Regions from separate parts of the Homo sapiens genome. Here region 2 is linked to region 1. Evidence: promoter capture Hi-C in human tissues and cell types (Jung and others, 2019). All regions are on one chromosome and are shown on one strand. Each heading gives the region's core, a stretch centred on a gene start or on the middle of the fragment in contact. The rest is flanking DNA. Distances are from core to core; before and after follow the strand shown.

The links. Contacts are between HindIII fragments. The study calls those that stand out against the background at their distance.
Region 2: a fragment that was not itself captured here is called in contact with the fragment with the promoter of CYP2C18 in region 1 in 4 of the 25 tissues and cell types used here (H1 embryonic stem cells, liver, spleen and 1 more).

The regions. Positions count from the first base shown.
Region 1 is chr10:94,681,395-94,687,782 of GRCh38, forward strand. It overlaps CYP2C18 (cytochrome P450 family 2 subfamily C member 18), which reads left to right and starts at 2,335. Exons shown (of 9, transcript NM_000772.3): 1 at 2,335-2,593; 2 at 6,376-6,388. The coding sequence starts at 2,426. The HindIII fragment of the contact is 11,159 bases long and covers 1-6,388 here.
Region 2 is chr10:94,780,911-94,787,302 of GRCh38, forward strand. CYP2C19 (cytochrome P450 family 2 subfamily C member 19) reads left to right here. Exons shown (of 9, transcript NM_000769.4): 5 at 911-1,087. Among named protein-coding and RNA genes, the nearest start is that of CYP2C19, 21 kb to the left of the region's middle. The HindIII fragment of the contact is 7,000 bases long and covers 1-5,467 here.

The DNA of each region.
Region 1 (6,388 bases), core at 1,085-3,584:
CAGAGGAAATGGAAAAAAGTGTGTCAAAGAGCCAAATTTGTGGTTAGATAGGATGAATAAGTCTAAAGATCTAATAAACAGCAAGAGGACTATAGTTAATATACTATACTGAAAATTTGCTAAAAGAGTAGATTTTAGGTGCTTATACCACAAAAAAGAAGTTAATTATAGAATTGATTAATATGTAAATTTGTTTAACCATAGTAATGATTCCACTGTTTATATGTCTACCAATGTTGTATACCTTAAATATATACAATGGAAATAAACAAATAACTGTACTAGTCATTTAGAATACCACAATGACATCTTTACAGAATATGCCTTTGTACAAGCATTGCCATTAGTGATCTAGAAATGTATGTATCATTTTAGTGATATATAGAGCCTCATGAGCGCTAAATGTCATCTCCAGTTCAGGTCTGCACAACTGTGTTTGTTCTGTGCCATGGGTCTGTTTAATGATTTCCCTACCTCCCATTCACCACTGAAGCACATGCCTGTTGTTCTGCCTATAATTCCCCTTCCTTGCTGTGCAATATTTCATTCCATTATTTCTGACACAGACCAAAAAAGCAATAGAAACAGCAGTGTCTGGAGGCAAGTGGGAGCTGGAGAAGCCATAGTTTCTGAGATCTTACCCACTTAATTCTCTGAGATTGGCTCTTTCCTCAGTTATACTGAGTAGGTTTCAGCTCTTCAGTGACAGAGAGGGGAGAAACCCTAGCTTTTATTTCTTCTCTTGAGAATGTACAACCCTGTTATTTTGTGAACAGTGTGGTGTAGATTCAGAGTGAGAAATGTTTTTAGGATTTATTTTATTTTGCTAAAACTGTTCTCAAGGCAGCTCTGGTGTAAGTGAGAATATACCACAGCGGGCGTCAGAAGATCTCAGTTCAAATCCCAGCCTGCCATTTATGAGCTGTGGGACACTGGACAGGTCATCTGTTCTCCTAGAGTCTCCCTTTCCCCATTTGGAAAATATGAAATAATATTCTCAGCCGTCCAGTGTTTTTCACGGGGTTTAATGGAAAAAGGTGTGTATGTTTACTTAGTTAATTGATAACCGGTTTAGCCATTTAAGATGAATGAGTTTGTTAGCTGCTTTATGTTTAGGCAGCTGTAATGTTAGTACTACATTAAAATATTTCAAAAGGATCTCATTTTCAAGGAAAATGATCTAGTGTTTGAGAAAGCATTATAGTGTTGCAGTCTTGCAGATCCTTAGCTCAGCTAGGTCCGAGTTGTCTTATGCAGGAAGAATTAGGCACACAGACACTGGAGAGTGAGTGGAGTAGAATTTATTAAGTGAAAGGAAAACTCTCAGCAAAGAGAGAGGCCCTGAAAGCAGGTTGCAGATTGCCACTTCACAGTTGAATACCAGGACTTTTATAGAAAAGCTGATGAGGCTGGGATACTTATTTGCATAAGGCGTGAATTCCTGGTGTTTCCACCCCTTCCTTCCATTGCGCGTGTGGGCTCTTAGTCTAAGCCACTCCATATTGATTTATTTCCCTTCCTGCGCATGTGTTAAAGGTAGGAATTTTTCACTGTGGGCATATTTAGGCAAGCTCCCTGTGCAAGTTCCCTTATCTGCACAAAACATCTAGTGTAAGTACTTGGGGTTTTTGTGGATTGGGCAATGACCTGGAAGGGTTGGAGGTTCTCTGGGGACCCTTCCCTTACTGCCTGCCTAATGCAAGCTGGCTAACTCCTCTCAATAGGATAAACATTATTTTATGTACAAGGAATATAATACACAGATTGCCCTCAAAGTCATATTTCCAACTGCTCATCAATCTAAAAATCCAAAATTTTGAATAATTTTTTGATGAAATAATTTATTTCATTGTTTCTCAATTTTGGCTGCACAGTGGAACCACCTGGGCTGTTTGAAAAAACCTAGGCCTAGCCAGGCACGGTGGCTCATGCCTGTAATCCCAGCACTTAGGGAGACCAGCCTGGCCAACATGGTGAAACCCTGTCTCTGCTAAAAATACAAAATCACCTGGGCGTAGTTGTGCATTCCTGTAATCCCAGCCACGCCAGAAGCTGAGGCAGAATCGTTCGAATCCAGGAAGTGGAGGCTGCAGTGAGTTGAGATCTTGCCATTGCACTCCAGCCTGGGCAACAAGAGCGAAACTCCATCTCAAGGAAAAACAACAACAACAACAACAAAATCCTGGGCTCTGCTTCAGACTAGTTAAACCAGAATCTCCAGGGTGGGGCACCGGAAAGAACAAGAAAAAAGAACACCTTATTTTTATCTTCTTCAGTGAGCCAATGTTCATTCAAAAGAGAGATTAAAGTGCTTTTTGCTGACTAGTCACAGTCAGAGTCAGAATCACAGGTGGATTAGTAGGGAGTGTTATAAAAGCCTTGAAGTGAAAGCCCGCAGTTGTCTTACTAAGAAGAGAAGCCTTCAATGGATCCAGCTGTGGCTCTGGTGCTCTGTCTCTCCTGTTTGTTTCTCCTTTCACTCTGGAGGCAGAGCTCTGGAAGAGGGAGGCTCCCGTCTGGCCCCACTCCTCTCCCGATTATTGGAAATATCCTGCAGTTAGATGTTAAGGACATGAGCAAATCCTTAACCAATGTAAGTATGCTTTATGTTCCTCCAGTAATGTACAAGGTGTATTTAACCTCACAATTCTTAAAGTTTTATTTCATTTTAAAGTGATAAATGATAATTGTATATATTAATGGGGTACAATATTACATTTTGATACATGTATAGATTGTGAATTGATCATATCAGGGTAATTAGCATATCCATCATCTCAAATATTTGTCATTTCTTTGTAGTGAGAACATTTAAAATCCTCTTTTTTAGCTGTTTTGAAATATACAGTACATTAATATTAATTATAGTCACCTTGCTGTCCAATAGAACACCCGAGCTTATTCCTCCTATCTAAGTGTAACTCTGTACCTGTTGACCAACGTATCCCCTTATTTGGCCCATCTCCACCTGCCAGCCTCTGGTAGCCACCATTCTAATCTCTACTTCTCTGAGTTTAACTTTTTAAGATTCCACATAGAAGTGAGATCATATATGATATTTGCCTCTCTCTGCCTGGCTTATTTAATTAATATGATGTTCTGTAGATTCATCCATGCCGTCATAAATAAGAATATTTTTTCCTCTTTAAAAGGCTGAATAGCATTTCATTGTACATATATGTCACATACAAAATCCATTAATTTATTGATGAACACTTAGGTTGTTTCCATATCTTGGCTATTGTCAATAGCACTGCAATAAACATGGAAGTACAGACATGTCTTCCACATACTGACTTCAATTCCTTTGGGTATATACTGGTAGTGGGATTGCTGGATCATCTGATAGTTCTATTTTTGTTTTTTTTAGGAACATCCATACTGTTTTCTCAAATCACAATGCTAATTTACATACCCAAGGTTCACTTTATTCCACATCTTTGTCAACACTTGTTATCTTTTTATCTTTTTGATAATAATAATATCTTATCTATGAGTTGTGATGAGTTATCTCATTGTGGTTTTAATTTGCATTTCTCTGATGATTAAATTTGTTGAGTATTTAAAAAATATATCTTGGCCATTTGTATGTCTTTTTTTGAAAAATGTCTACTCAAATCCTTTGCCCATTTAATTAATTAATTAATTAATTAATTAATAGAGACAGGGTTTTGCTCTGTTGTAGGATGGAGTGTAGTGATGGGATCATGGTCCCTGCAGCCTTGAGCTCCTGGGCTCAAGCCATCCTTCTACCTTAGACCCCCAAGTAGCTGGGGCTACAGGTGTATGCCACCATGCCTGGATAATTTTTTAATGCTTTGTAGAGATGTGGTCTCATTATGTTGTCCAGGCTGGTCTTGAACTCTTGGGCTCAAGCAATCCACCCACCTTTGTCTCTCAAAGTGCTGGAATTACAGACATGAGCCATTGCACTTGACCCCTTTGCTCGTTTTAAATAGAATTATTTATTTGTTATTGAGTAATTTGAGTTTCTAAGTATTTTGGGTGGTCAGAATCTCATTTGTCTAGTTTTGCTTTCATGGCCTGTACTTTTAGGATCATATCCAAGAAATCATTGCCTAGACCAATGTCATGGAGTTTTTCTATATGGTTTCTTTCAGTAGTTTTTAGTTTCAGGTCTTATGCTTAAGGCTTTAATTCATTTTGAGTTAATTCTTGTATAAGGGTGAGATTAGGATTCTCTTTTATTCTTTGCATATGAATATCCAGTTTTCCCAACACCTTTTGCTGAAGAGTGCTTTCCCCATTGTATGTTCTTGGCACCTTTGTCAAAAATCAATTGATTATAGATGTGTGGGCTTATTTCAGGGTTCTCTACGCTTTTCCTTTAATCAGTGTGTCTATTTTTATGCTAATGCTATGCAGTTTTGCTTACTATAGCTTTGTAACATATTTTGCAGTTCAGTGGTGTGATGCCTCCAGCTTTATTCTTTTTGATTAATTTGCTTTAGTTATTTGGGGTCTTTTGTGGTTCCATACAAATTTTAAGATTTTTTTTCTATTTCTGTGAAGAATGAGATTAAAATTTTGATAGGGATTGCACTGAATCTGTATATTGCTTTGGGTAATATGGACATTTTTCCACTATTAGTTTTTCCAATCCATGAACATGGGATATCTTTGCCTTTATTTGTGTCATCTTCAATTTCTTTCATCAATGATTTGTAGTTTTCAGTATATAGATCTTTCTCTTCCTTGATTAAATTTATTCATAAGTATTTTATTTTTTGATGCTACTATAAATTAATTGTTCTCTTAATTTCTTTTTTAGATATTTTGTTGCTAGTGTATAAAAATGCCACTGATTTTTGCATGTTGATTTTTTATCCTTCAAGTTTACTGAATTTGTTTATCAGTTCTAGCACTTTTGTACTGAAGTCTTTAGATTTTCTACATATAAGATTATTTCATCAGGAAACAGACAATTTCACTTCATCCTTTCCTACATGAATACATCCTTTCCTATACGAATATTCCTATATGAATATTTTCTGTCTTTAGTCTAATTGCTCTGACTAGGACTTCCAGTACTCTGTTGAACAGAAATGGTCAGAGGGGGCATTCTTCTCTTATTTCTGATCTTAGAGGAAAAGCTTTTAGCTTTTCACCATTAAATATGATGTTAGCTGTGGGCTTGCCACATATAACCGTTAATGTCACATAGAAACTTCTGTATTACTGGAGGCCAGTTATTAAAGGTTATATGTTATAGGAACATTCCTCAGCATTCCTCCTGTACCAGCAGAGGCTGATTATTAAAGTATGCTATTGTAAAGCAAATACTTCCTGTGGAGTATGTTTTTCTTTTTTGTCATTGTCAGAAATAGTGGAATAAAATAATGCATTTTGCCAGAAGAGAAACATTTCAAGTGGTAAGGTAGAATCAAAATGATAAAGGCCTGCTGCTTTCTTTGCTTCACAGTCATTTGCTATATTTTTTTGCCTGAAGGAAAATGGTAGTGGAAGTGTTTTGTGATTAAAGATTTTGAGAAGTCAGTCACTGTATATGCTATGTATTTTGCTTAGATTAGCCATGATCATTAAACGTCTTAAAAAAGCAAATCATGCCTGATGTCAAAGAAATATCTATGAGTTCATCATAAACATAAACGAATGAAAGAAAGAATTAATTAGTCAGGGCCATCTGGGTGGTAACAGAATATTTATGGCCTCTGTACAAAGCTGCTGTCTGTGACCTATGAGTGTATAGCATGGAAAACATTTTTCCTCTGTGAGATGCCACACATCCTGATACTATCTCTGTTGGATCCACTCTCCTTCTGTGGTGATTATACCAGTGGATCTCAAAGTGGGCTGGGCAGTAGAATCATTTGGGTGATTTAAAAAGGTGTAGATTTTTTAGTATTGATGACAGGACTCCTGCATCAGGATCCCTATGGGATGAGCTTTGCAGGAGATCCTGAAGCAGTGTCCCAGCAGCTGATTATTGGTCAAAATATGGACATTAGGAACTGATAAACTGCTCAGGCTCACAGCTTGACTAAGCAGGCTTCAAATTTGGACCTTCTGTTTATCAGCTGTGGGACACTGGCAGTGAATTTGAAATTCTTTAAAATACAATCTGTCTTATCTGTAAAATAGAGTAAACAAGGTGTTGATGTGATGATTAAGTTTAATAGCCTGCATACTACTTGCTTGGCACATTGAAGGCACTGTATATGTGCAGCTAAAACAATAATCATCATCTTTGTCTAAAATATACAAATATTTGAAGCTGTATTTGACAGAATAATCATAACAACATTATGATGATAATATCAGTCTGAATCACGGACAATATATAGACCAAATACTGAGTTTTGCTACTATTTGAACCTCCTTTTCTATGTTTAGTTCTCAAAAGTCT
Region 2 (6,392 bases), core at 718-3,217, 99 kb after region 1:
AGCCCTGTTTCTATAAAGTACTTTGGTGACAGCCCCAAAGCGTGCTTATATCACTCCATGGACATCCAGGCACTTTGGAGTCTTCCATTACTCACAAGGCTTGTCCTTCAATTCACACTTTGTCATATTGTGTGACAGAAATATCCTAATCTAAAAGACATTATCTCCTTCAAGGACAGAGAATATTTGGAACCACAGAAGCTGCCAAGAAACACTGAATAGGGCAGAGGTGTTTGATGTCTCAGTTGGGATTCTAGCTGATGAGACAGCTGGTTAGGAATGAAAAAATTATTGTTTTTTTGGTGTATGAACCATAAACAGACATCACACTTTTACCCTGTGCTGAATTGGCATGTTTTATACTCTGCCTAAATAATAATTGTATGATTTTACAGAAGTCATTTAACTGCTCTGGTGCACAGTTGGAATTTGAAGTATCTTTGAGCCCCTCCCACTTCTAAAATACTAATTCAATTTCAGAGGCTGCTTGATAGAAATCAATATAGCAGGGACTATCTTTGTAGTATCAATCAGGTTGTGCAAACTCTTTTAACCTATGCTATCATCTCCAAAATGTTAATGTAGTAATTCATACCATCTTATATTTCAAGATTGTAGAGAAGAATTGTTGTAAAAAGTAAGAGAATTAATATAAAGATGCTTTTATACTATCAAAAGCAGGTATAAGTCTAGGAAATGATTATCATCTTTGATTCTCTTGTCAGAATTTTCTTTCTCAAATCTTGTATAATCAGAGAATTACTACACATGTACAATAAAAATTTCCCCATCAAGATATACAATATATTTTATTTATATTTATAGTTTTAAATTACAACCAGAGCTTGGCATATTGTATCTATACCTTTATTAAATGCTTTTAATTTAATAAATTATTGTTTTCTCTTAGATATGCAATAATTTTCCCACTATCATTGATTATTTCCCGGGAACCCATAACAAATTACTTAAAAACCTTGCTTTTATGGAAAGTGATATTTTGGAGAAAGTAAAAGAACACCAAGAATCGATGGACATCAACAACCCTCGGGACTTTATTGATTGCTTCCTGATCAAAATGGAGAAGGTAAAATGTTAACAAAAGCTTAGTTATGTGACTGCTTGCGTATTTGTGATTCATTGACTAGTTTTGTGTTTACTACGGATGTTTAACAGGTCAAGGAGTAATGCTTGAGAAGCATATTTAAGTTTTTATTGTATGCATGAATATCCAGTAAGCATCATAGAAAATGTAAAATTAAATTGTTAAATAATTAGAATACATAGAAGAAATTGTTTAGATAAATATAATCTATCTGAACAATAAGGATGTCAGGATAGGAAAAGCTCTGTTCTGCAGCTTCCAGTGAGATCAGCACAGGAGGAACTTAAATTTAAAAGAAAATAAAAAACATCTCCATCAAAAAGTGAGTGAAGGATATGAACAGACACTTTTCAAAAGAAGTCATTGGAGAAATGCAAATAAAAACAACAATGAGATACCATCTCATGCCAGTTAGAATGGCGATCATTAAAAAGTCAGGATATAACAGATGCTGAAGAGGATGTGGAAAAATAGAAATGTTTTTACTCTGTTTGTGGGAGCGTAAATTAGTTCAATCATTGTGGAAGGCAGTGTGGCAATTCCTCAAGGATCTAGAACTAGAAATACCATTTGACCCAGCAATCCAATTACTGGATATATATCCAAAGGATTATAAATTATTCTATTATAAAGACACATGTACACATTTGTTTATTGTGCCACTATTCACAATAGCCAAGACTTGGAATCAACCCAAATGTACATCAATGACAGACTGGATTAAGAAAATGTGGCACATATACACCATAAAATACTATGGAGGCATAAAAAAGATGAATTCATGTCCTCTGCAGGGACATAGATGAAGCTGGAAGCCCCCACTCTCAGTAAACTAACACAGGAACAGAAAACCAAACACCGTATGTTCTCACTCATAAGTGGCAGTTGAACAATGAGAACACATAGACACAGGATGAGGAACATCACACACTGGGGCCTGTCAAGGGGTGGAGGGCTTGGGGAGGGATAACATTAAGAGAAATACCTAATGTAGATGACAAGTTCATAGGTGCAGGAGACCACCATGGCACGTGTGTACCTATTTAACAATCCTGCACGTTCTGCACATGTATCCCAGAACTTAAAGTATAATAATAATAACAATAACAAAAATCTACCCAAGGGGAAACAAAATGCAGGTTTTAGGTGAAATGGAAGCAATTATGAACAAGTTAGAAAATATAAAATATTATGTCATAGGATGAAAATGGGCATCATTATTGCACACAGTTTATTGGAGAATGGGAAAGAATGGTTTAACCTAGGTGGGTTTCCTGCATTCCTGCAGATTGAAATAGGCCTTAAAATATTTGCAGTGAGAGTCAGAAGAGGGGTTTCAGATGGGTTGGAATGCTTTACATGGAGGTGTAGAGGTGTGTGATGGAAAAGAGTAGGTGGATGGAAGAGGGAAGGCTTCATTGAGTGTAAACTAAAATGATTTGTACAGATAAGAATTGGAATTTGGTATCTATCAGATACCGTGTAAACATCACCTCTTTTGTCATTGCACCATTTTTGAAGAGGCTATTTTTTCCTCCTATTGAATTGTCTTGACAACCTTGTCAAAACCCAATTGACTATAAATGTGTGAAGGGTTTTTTTTGGGGGGCTCTCAATTCTACTCCATTGATCTATGTGTCTGTCCTAATGCCTATAGTACACCATCTTGAAGTCTTAATTACTGTACCTTTGTATTAATATCAACTTATTAAATCAAGGAGTGTGAGTCTTTTGTTGTTCTTTTTCAATACTGTTTTCACTATTCTGGGTCCCTTGAATCTTCATATGAAATTTAGGATCAACTTGTCAATTTCTTCAAAGGAGCCAATGGGAATTTTGACAGGATTGCATTAAATCTGTAGAACAGGGAGTTATGCCATTTTAAAAATTGAAGTAAAATTCACACAACATACAATTAACCAGTTTAAAGCATACACCTAAGTGGTATTTAATGTATTCACAATGTTGTGCAACCATCAGCTTTCTCTGGTTTCAAAATGTTTTTATCACGCCACAAAAACGTATTATATTCGCTAAATAATCACTCCATTCCCCCACTCCATCATGTAATAACCTCTAATCTTTTTTCTGTCTCTATGGGTTTGCGTGTTATGGATATATAAAGAATTCATAGCATATGCAACCTTTTATTTCTGGGTCCTTACACTTACAATGTTTTGGAGGCTCATCTAAGTTGTAGCATATATCTGTACTTCATTCTTTTTGTGGATAAAGTATATTTTATTTTCTATGCACATTTATCACAAATTGTTATTCATCTGTTTGTGGACATTTGCATTGTTTCCAACTTTTGGCTCTTATAGATAATCTTTCTTTAACCATTTGTGTATGTTTCTTTATGGGCATGTTTTCATCATTCTTGGGTGTATTCTCAGGAGTTGATTTGCTGGGTCAAATGGTAATTTTATGTTTATCTTCTTGTATAAGAGCCAAATTTTTCTACAGTGAATGTGGCATTTTATATTCCTTCCAGCAATGTAGAAGGATTTCTGTTTCTCCACATAGTTGCTAATACTTGTAATTTTCTGTGTTTATTAAAGCCCTCCTAGTGAATGTAAAGTGGTATCTCATTATTTATTTATTTATTTATTTATTTTGAGACAGAGTCTCACTCTGTTGCCTAGGCTCGAGTGCAGTAGCATGATCTCATTCAAGCAATTCTCCTGCCCCAGCCTTCAGAGTAGCTGGGATTACAGGAATGTGCCACCATACCTGACTAATTTTTATATTTTTGGTAGAGATAGGGTTTCACCATGTTGGCCAGGCTGGTCTCGAACTCTTGACCTCAGGTGATCTGCCCACCTTGGCATCCCTAAGTGCTGGGATTACAGGTGTGAGCCACCATGCCCAGCTCTCATTGTGGTTTTAACTTGTATTTAATGACCAGTGATTTTGAACTTCTTTTAATATACTGTTACCCATTTGTATATCTTCTTTGGAGAAATGTTATTCAAGTCCATTTCCTATTTAAATTAAGTTGCCTTTATTTTTCTTTTTAAGCTATTAGAATTGTTTATGTTTTCAAAACATTAAACTCTTACATATACATAATATGAAAATATTTCCTCCCATTCTGTTGGTTGTCATTTCACATTCCTAATTATATTTTTGATGCACAAAGTTTAATTTTGATGAAGTTTGGTTTATCTATTTTTTCTTTTGCTCCTCTGGTATCAAATTTATGAACCTATTGCCAAATATGAAGTCATGAAGATTTACCCCTACATTTTATTCTAAGAGTTTTATAGTTTTAGCCCTTATATTTAAGTTTTTCCGTCCATTTTTCAGTTATATTTTTCATTTGGAGTGAGGTAGGGTAGGTCCCAGCTACATTCTTTTGTATTTTGTCATCCAATTGACTCATCACCATTTGTTGAAGAGATTCTTTCCTCGGACTGAATGGTCTAGGCACCCTTGATGAAAGTAAATTGGCCACAGATGTTTAGGTTTATTTCTTGATTTCAGTTTTATTCCATTGGTCTTGATGTCTATCTTTATGCTAGTACCACACTTTTGATTATTATACTTTGTAGTAAGTTTTGAAGTCAGAAACTGAGAACTCACTGATACAGAAATTAAGAAGAAATTACTTAGGCAGAGAGTAAGCATTTGGGAATTCTCAGTAAGGTTTTTCTTTTTAATGAAAAGCAACCCTAAATCATTGTCTGGCAAAGAGCATCGCGTAAAATCGAGCTGCAGTCATAGACAAGCAAGCTGGAAGCCTGCCCGGTGAATGCTGATAGGAAAGAACTACCTGTGACTAGGCATGTTCAAAATGGCAGCTCTATCTTCCCTTCCCTTTGCCAGCCACATGTACAGTAAGGAGCAGACAAGATGGCGCTGGTCAAGTGGAAAGTCCATTTGCATAATAACATTAGAGTGGGTTGGCCAGCCTTCCCTGCCCACTATGTAAATGCCACACCTGATTGAGCCAATCTTTGGGCCCTATATAAATCAGACACTGCCTTTTCCGGCCTGCCTATAAAATCTGCTGTGGTCCGCCTCCTTCCCCCTCTTTGGATGTCTCTCTCTCTCTCTCTCACAAGAAGCTGCTCTTTTTCTCCTTTCTTCTGTTATTAAACTACCTGCTCCTTAACCCACTCAGATGTGTCCATGTCCTAAATTTTCCTGGGGTACGATGACAAACCTGAGGGTATATATCCCAGGTAATGTAGCTGCTTCATCACCATGTAGTTGCATATGAATTGGACAATCAACTTTCCCATTTCTGGAAAAAGGTCACGGGTATTTTGGTAGGGATTGCATAGAATTTTTAGATCACTTTGAGGAGTATTGCCATCTTAACAATATTAAGTCTTCCAATCCTGGAACATTGAAGAGTTTTCAATTTATTTAGGTATTAGATATTCTTTTTTCCTCTTTTGCAAGGGTCTGGTTTAGTTTGAAAGGCAAGTTTACCTTAAATTTTGTATTTAGTTATGATCATTGCTTGCCTGATTTTAAAATGATACCATATGAAATACTTTCTTTTTAAAAAAATTTTCAACTTTTATTTTAGATTCAGGAAGTGCATGTTCAAGTTTGTTACATGGGTTTATTGTGTGATGCTGAAGTTTAGGGTACAAATAATTTCATCACCCAGGTAGTGAGAATAGTACCCAATAGGTAGTTTTTCAGCTCTTGCCTTTATATCTCTCTACCATCTATAGTAATTCCCAGTGTGTATTGTTTCCATCTTTGTGTCCCACTTTTATATGAGAACACGTGGCATTTGATTTTCTGTTGCTGCATTAATTCTCTCAAGACAATGGCCTCCAGCTGCATCTATGTTGCTGCAAAGACATGATTTTTTTTATGGCTGCATAGCATTTCATAGTGTATATATACCACATTTTCTTTATGCCACACACCATTGGTTGCTTCTGTGTCTTTGCTATTGTGAATAGTGCAGAGATGGACATATGAGCACATGTGTCTTTTTGGTATAACAATTTGTTTTCCACTGGATATGTACCCAGTAGTGGAATTGCTGCATCAAATGATAATTTTGTTTTTAGTTCTTTGAGAAATTTCCAAACTGCTTTCCATAGTGGCTGAACTAACTTACATTTCCACCAGTAGTGTATAAGTTTTCCCTTTTTTCTGCAGCCTTACCAACATCTGTTATTTTTTGGCTTTTTAATCATATCCATTCTGACTGGTATGAGATGATATCTCATTGTGGTTTTGATTTGCATTTCTCTGATGATAAGTGATGTTCAGCATTTTGTCATATGCTTGTTGGCCATGTGTATGTCTTCTTTGG